Linked DNA regions of Homo sapiens: region 1 is linked to region 2. The links are contacts of gene promoters, found by promoter capture Hi-C in human tissues and cell types (Jung and others, 2019). All regions are on one chromosome and are shown on one strand. The core of a region is centred on a gene start or on the middle of the fragment in contact, and the rest is flanking DNA. Distances in the headings are between cores, read along the strand shown.

Region 1 (3,498 bases), core at 538-3,037, 180 kb before region 2:
ATTCACTCTATGTGCCTTCTGAAAAAATTAGAAAATGTACCTTTTATCTTCAAGTTGTACTTTTTTTTTTTCCTTCAGACAGGACCTAGTTCTGTCACCCCGGCTGGAATGCAGTGGCAGGAACACTGCTCCTTGCACCCTCAACCTCTGGTGCTCAAGCAATCCTCCCGCCACACCTCCCAACTAGCTGGAGCTGCAGGCCCTCACCACCAAGCCTGGCTAATTTGTTAGTACTTTGTAGAGGGGTGGTCCCACTATGATGCTCAGGCTAGCCTTCAACTCCTGGACTCAAGCGATCAACCCACCTTTGCTTCCCAAAGTGTTGGGGTTACAGGCAAGCCACCACACCCATCCAATTGCAATCTATTTTAGGTGTTTTCTTTGTTATTCTCTCCTGAGTGTTCTATCAGGTGGGAATAACAAAGGCTATAAAATATGCAGTCTTTAAATGTTAGGATTTATTTTCATATAGAGAAAGATCATGAAATATTACTAAGAATACATTGCAGTCAAGTTATTCCGTTTTACTTGGGCCCTGAAAAAATATAACTAAGTTATAAAATTGGCTGGGCACATTGACTCACACCTGTAATCCCAGCACTTTGGGAGGTCGAGGCAGGTGGATGACCCAGAGGTCAGGAGATTGAGACTAGCCTGGCTAACATGGTGAAACCCCATCTGTACTAAAAATACAACAATTAGCTGGGTAAGGTGGCACAAAACTGTAATCTCAGCTACTCAGGAGATTGAGGCAGGAGAATCTCTTGAATCCAGGAGGCAGAGGTTGCAGTGAGCAAAGATCTCACCACAGCTCTCCAGCCTGAGCAAAAGAGTGAGATTCTGTCTCAAAAAAATAAAAATAAAAATAAAATGAAATTATAAATCACCTCATTTCTGCATGTAATACTTTTATGACTATATCTGTAAGTTAACATGTACTATGAACTATGTTTTTCTCCCACATCCCTAGCTATGGAAGAATTCATCTATCAAACACTAGTAATTAGCTAAAATATGATTACATTTAGAAGGGAAATTAGCATATCTAGAATATTAGCAAGTTTAAAAAAGCATAATGTCGTCAGGCATGGTGGCTTGTGCCTGTAATCCGAGCATGATGGGAGGCTGAGGCAGGAGGATGGCTAGTGCCCAACAGTTGGAGTCCAGCCTAGGCAACATAGCACCTCATCTTTATGTTTTAAAAATTAATTAAGTTACTTATTTATTTTTGAGATTGAGTTTGGTTCTTGTTGCCTAGGCTGGGGTGCAATGGCACGGTCTCGGCTCACTGCAACATCTGCCTCCTGGGTTCAAATGATTCTCTTGCCTCAGCCTCCCAGGTAGCTGGGATTATTGGTGCTCGCCATCATGCTGGGTTAATTTTTGTATTTTTAGTAGAGACGGGGTTTCACCGTGTTGGCCAGGCTGGTCTCCAAATCCTGACCTTCCAAAGTGCTGGGATTACAGACATGAGCCACCGTGCATGGCAAAAAAGTTTATTTTAATCAGAAATAATTAATAAATAGAACATGATAATGGGTACAAAAAATAGAATAAGACCTATTATTTCATAACACAACAGAATGACTGTAGTCAATGATTAAATTGTACATATAAAAATGGGGATGGCCAGGTGTGGTGGCTCAAACCTATAAGCCCTGTCTCTACCAAAAATACAAAAAAAACTGGATGTGAGCCTGTAATCCCAGCTACTCAGGAGACTGAGGCATGAGAATCACTTAAACCCAGGGAGCAGAGGTTGCAGTGAGTGGAGATTGCACCACTGCATTCCAGACTGTGCGAAAGAGCTGGACTCCATCTCAAAAAACTAAACAAATGGCTGGGCACAGTGGCTCATGCTTGAATCCCAGCACTTTGGGAGCCAAGATGGGTGGATCCCCTGAGGTCAAGAGTTCGAGACCAGCCTGACCAACATGGTATAACCCTGTCTCTAAAAAAATACAAAATTAGCCGAGGGTGATGGCGCATGCCTGTAATCTCAGATATTCAGGAGGCTGTGGCAGGAGAATCATTTGAGCCAAGAAGGCAGAGGTTGCAGTGAGCTGAGATCGCACCACTACACTCCAGGGTACACAAGAAGAGTGTAACTCCATCACACACACACACACACACAAAATGCTATAAACAGAACATCAGAAAAAAAATATAGAAAGTCACATGTATTTAAAAACCTTAAGCTTTTGAAAGCTGTTTTCCCAAGTAATCAAAAATGAGCCAATAACGATGCAAATATTATCTTTTTGTTTTTTGTTTTTTCTGGAGACAGAGATCATGCAACTGCACTCTAGCCTGGGTGACAGAGTGAGACTCCAACTCAAAAAAATAAATAAATAAAAAATTATTAGGCCAGGAGCAGTGGCTCTTTGGGAGGCTGAGGTGGGCCAATCACCTCAGGTCAAAAGTTCGAGACCAGCCTGGTCAACATGGTGCAACCCTATCTCTACTAAAAATACAAAAAATTAACCGGGCCTGGTGGTGTGTGCCTGTAATCCCAGCTACTAGGGAGGCTGAGGCAGGAGAATTGGTTGAAGCTGAGAGGTGGAGGCCGCAGTGAGTCGAGATCATGCCACTGCCCTGCAGCCTGGGTAACAGAGTGAGACTCCATCTCAAAAAAAAAAAAAAAAAAAAAAATTACCAATGTCAACTGAACTTGGAAAGCACCACACATTTGCACACTCACACAGACACAACCCTCTGATATGGCTCTAGACCAAATCCACAGGTTAAAAAGCCCTCAAATGAACTCTTGGGCCTTAAGCCTTTCAAAAGATCACCTGTTTCCTGTGAGGTTGGGGCTGTGGCCCTGATGTGTGAAGACTTAGGACCATCCTGTCATCATAGAAACCCTAAACAAAATAAAGAAGGAAATTTACCTCAACAATATAAAAGACCATCCATGAAATGACCACAGCTGAAATAACCAATCAGGAAAAATTGAATGCTTTTCCTGTAGGATCTCACATGATGCTAGAACGTTCTCACCCTTTCTATTCAATCAATACTGACTGTCCTAGCCAGAGCAATGAAATAGCAAAAGAAATCAAACTCATCCAAATCAGAAAGAAATAAATAAAATTTTATTTGTTTGTAGATGACACGATCCTCTGTGTAGAAAGTCACAAAGACTCAACCAAAATACAAGTGGAACTAATAAACATTCAGTGGATTTGCAGAGTACAATATTAGCACCAAAATTAGTTGAATTTCCATGCAATAACAGTAAAAAATTTTAAAAGGAAATTAAGAAAACACTTCCATTTTCTAGAGAATTTAAACTAAGATATACTTAGGAATAAACGTAAAAATGCGAGAAGTTTCTACCTTGAAATCTATGAACATTGATCAAAATGATTAAAAACATAGAGATACAACCAATATTGATAGATTGGAAAACTTAATCTCGTTAAATGATTATACAACCCAAGATGATTTAGATTTAACACAACGCCCATACAAATCCCTATCAGTTTTTGTCAA
Region 2 (3,323 bases), core at 307-2,806:
AAAGGTTCTGATGAAATTGACTCCCAACATTGAATTCTTCCTTACAAGAAAATCACACTAACATTTATAAAATGCAGCAGTGTAAACACACAGCTCTTGACCTTGAAAACAGGGAAACAGGGTCAGCTGTAGAACCAAGACATAAGCAAATTATTTCAATCAAGAAATACATGGGTGGACAGCTGAGGTGGTTCACACCTGTAATTCCAGCACTTTGGGAGGTGGAGGTGGGTGGATTACCTGAGGTCAGGAGTTTGAGACCAACCTGGCCAACATGGTGAAACCCTATCTCTACTAGAAATACAAAAATTAGCTGGGCTCCATCCTTGCAACTTATTTAACCTCCTGTTGGTCCTTCTCCCCAATCTTTAGATCGTCCTCAATCTCCATAGATTTCTGCCTCTTCTCCCATCTATGCGCCTCCTCTGCTCTCCCTGTTAAATTCTCTCTTCTCTGTTATAACCCCCTGGACCCAATCTGGCACCCCAGATCCCCAGGTGTCCTCCCCGCTGTGCTTCTCCCTCTGTTCTCCTTGCCACCAGCACCACTCTGCTCTGTCTGACCCGGCTCCACATCCCTCCTCCTCTCCCTCACTCTGATGAGCCTCCACATTTCTGCCCCTCTCCCTACCTTGCTGTCCTTCATCTCTCTGTACATCTAGCTTTTCTCTACATTTCTCCAGTTGCTTTTCTCCTCCTGCTTTCTTATCTTTTATCACTTTTGCTGTCTCTTGGCAAATCCCTCACCCATCCTCTACTTTGCCATCTGTTATGGGTCTTTCTCATTCTTCTTTTCTCTGTCTCAGGTTTTCTACTGCTCTCTCAGTCCCTCTCTCTGTCTCCTGATCCCTTTGGCCCACACGATCACAAGAGGGTTTGGAGTAAGACGCCTGCATCTCGGAGAAGCGCATTTTCCAAGTGCTGGAGCTGGGCGGGCAAGAACACCCCGCGTCACAGGACAAGCCCCAGGCACCTCTCCAACGAGGGCTCAGGGGACGCGGTGACTGCGGAGGGGAGATCTGGGGAGCAGCAGGGCCCAGCAAGAGGAGGAGGGAGGTGGGGAGCGACGACGCCTTCGGACAAGGGTGGGATCCGCAGGATCCCAGGACCACAGAACGCAGCCTTCCCGGGACTGGGGTCGCCGCGCTGTGCTCCAGGAACCCAGGAGAGTAAGGCTGGGAGGCGCACAGGGTGGGAATACACCTCTAGGGTGAGGACTTTAAAAAGAGCCGTGCGGAAGGAGTCAAAAAACGGTTTTGAGCAGGAAAACTACGCGATAGGAAACGTATACATTGCCCTATGGCAGAAAGACCCGGGACGGGACCAGCCTCAGGGCGACTTTAAACCTAAAAAGAAGGGGCTTCCGGACTCCCAGTAGAACATCTCCATTTGCTCTGAGTGAAGGAAGAAAGGCGAGAACTTCCAGGTCTATGGGGACCCCACATCCCATGTACAGAAGTGCCGGGGACCTGGGAAGCTCAGACTTAACACCACACAGAGCAAAACTCACCGCCCGCCGCGGCGTGACCGTCATTCCACGGGATCCACTTCCTGGTCTGCGCGAATCTGCGCGCGCAGGACAGAAACCAGGCCTGGGTGGAGCCAACGAGGAGGCGAGCGGGGCCCGGGTGAGGTGTGGGCGGGGCGCGAAGCGGCGAGACCTTGCCCTTTAGAACCCGCAGAGGGCGGGGCCGGAGCGGGACCTGTGCATCTCTCAGCCTCCTCCCAACCCGTTCTCCGGGTTTTGGCGGCGAGAGCCCCCAGGAAGGCAGACGGATAATTCAAAAGCCCTGGAATAGTCTGGAAGGAGGATGCAAACTAGAATGTAAAATGCAAAGCCCTTTCTGGGCGGAACGTAGGATTTCATGCTGATGGCCCACAGGACAGTATAGAAATCTTCTCCCTTTCTATTCTCCATTCACTCAGGAGGGAGAGTCCACCCAGTGCTCAGCTTCAGAGACATCCCTAGGGCCACAGCCTGGGATGCCAGACGGAGTGCTCAGGCCAGGGAGGAGTGAGGTCACCACCTGCTGCTTAAACACAGCAGGGATGCGGGCGTGGGAGCCTGAGGTCCCAGCTACTCAGGAAGCAGCGGCGGGAGGATCGCTCAGCCTGGGGGTCCAGGACAGCCTGCGCGACAATGTAACATTCCCTCCCGCAGTCTCTCTCTTTTTTAAATTTTTAAAATAAAATTTTTATTAGGCCGGGCACGGTGACTCACGCCTGTAATCCCAGCACTTTGGGAGGCTGAGGCGGGCGGATCACGAGGTCAGGAGATCGCGACCATCCTGGCTTACACGATGAAACCCCGTCTCCACTAAAAATACAAAAATTAGCCGGGCGTGGTGGCGGGCGCCTGTAGTCCCAGCTACTCAGGAGGCTGAGGCAGGAGAATGCGGTGAACATGGGAGGTGGAGCTTGCAGTGGGCCGAGACCGAGCCACTGCACTCCAGCCTGGGCGACAGAGCCAGACTCCCTCTCTAAAAATAAATAAACAAACTAAATTTGCTTGTGTGAGATAGGAATACAACATTACTCTTCTCCATATGGATATCCAGTTAGTTGTCCCAGCACATTTGTAAAAGAGATCTGTTACTTTCTCCTTTTTATTTACATTTTTTCTTTTTCTTCTTCTTCTTCTTTTTTTTTTTTTTTTTGAGACTGAGTATTTCTCTGTCGCCCAGGCTGGAGTACAATGGTGACATCTCGGCTCACTGCAGCCTCTGCCTCCTGGGTTGAAGCGATTCTTCTGCCTCAGCCTCCGGAGTAGCTGGCATTACAGGCACACCCACCATGCCCGGCTAATTTTTGTATTTTGGGTACAGACGGGGTTTCATCATGTTGGACAGGCTGGTCTCGAACTCCTGACTTCAAGTGATCCGCCTGCCTCGGCCTCCCGAAGTTCTGGGATTACAGGCGTGAGCCACTGTGCCTGGCCCAAGAAATACTCTTTACTTCGCTTTTTAAATGTTGAAAAAATACAATTGAAAACTAAAAAATCTTCCCCAAAATGAGAAATCATCTTCATGACAAAACAGGAAGAAATAAAAACCATTTTATTAGTAAATAAGCCTTAGACCAGAATGTGTTGGGAAATACAGGCAAAGAGCTGAGAGGTTGAAAAGAGAGAAACTTCACTGCTCTATACAACCCATTAAGTACATGTTTTCAAGATAAACACTAATCAGTCCTCAGGGAAGAGGACTTGACAAGTCTTTGGTCGCACATAGTTCATCCTGGCTCTACTTGGTAATGGAGGTGACCATCTGTGTCAGCTAACTAGCTTCATGCAGAAGGAGGGGAAATACATTAACCCACGTCTTT

The links. Contacts are between HindIII fragments. The study calls those that stand out against the background at their distance.
Region 1: a fragment that was not itself captured here is called in contact with the fragment with the promoter of ZNF468 in region 2 in 6 of the 25 tissues and cell types used here (H1 embryonic stem cells, adrenal gland, heart left ventricle and 3 more).

Annotation. Positions count from the first base shown.
Region 1 is chr19:52,671,387-52,674,884 of GRCh38, forward strand. All of the region lies in intron 1 of LOC122539214 (Zinc finger protein LOC122539214), which reads right to left. It also overlaps a transcript of ZNF83 not described here. Among named protein-coding and RNA genes, the nearest start is that of ZNF83, 35 kb to the left of the region's middle. RefSeq lists an enhancer at 2,624-3,123. The HindIII fragment of the contact is 8,097 bases long and covers 1-3,498 here.
Region 2 is chr19:52,856,063-52,859,385 of GRCh38, forward strand. ZNF468 (zinc finger protein 468) reads right to left here and starts at 1,557. Exons shown (of 4, transcript NM_001008801.2): 1 at 1,510-1,557. RefSeq lists an enhancer at 1,156-1,235. The HindIII fragment of the contact is 14,237 bases long and covers 1-3,323 here.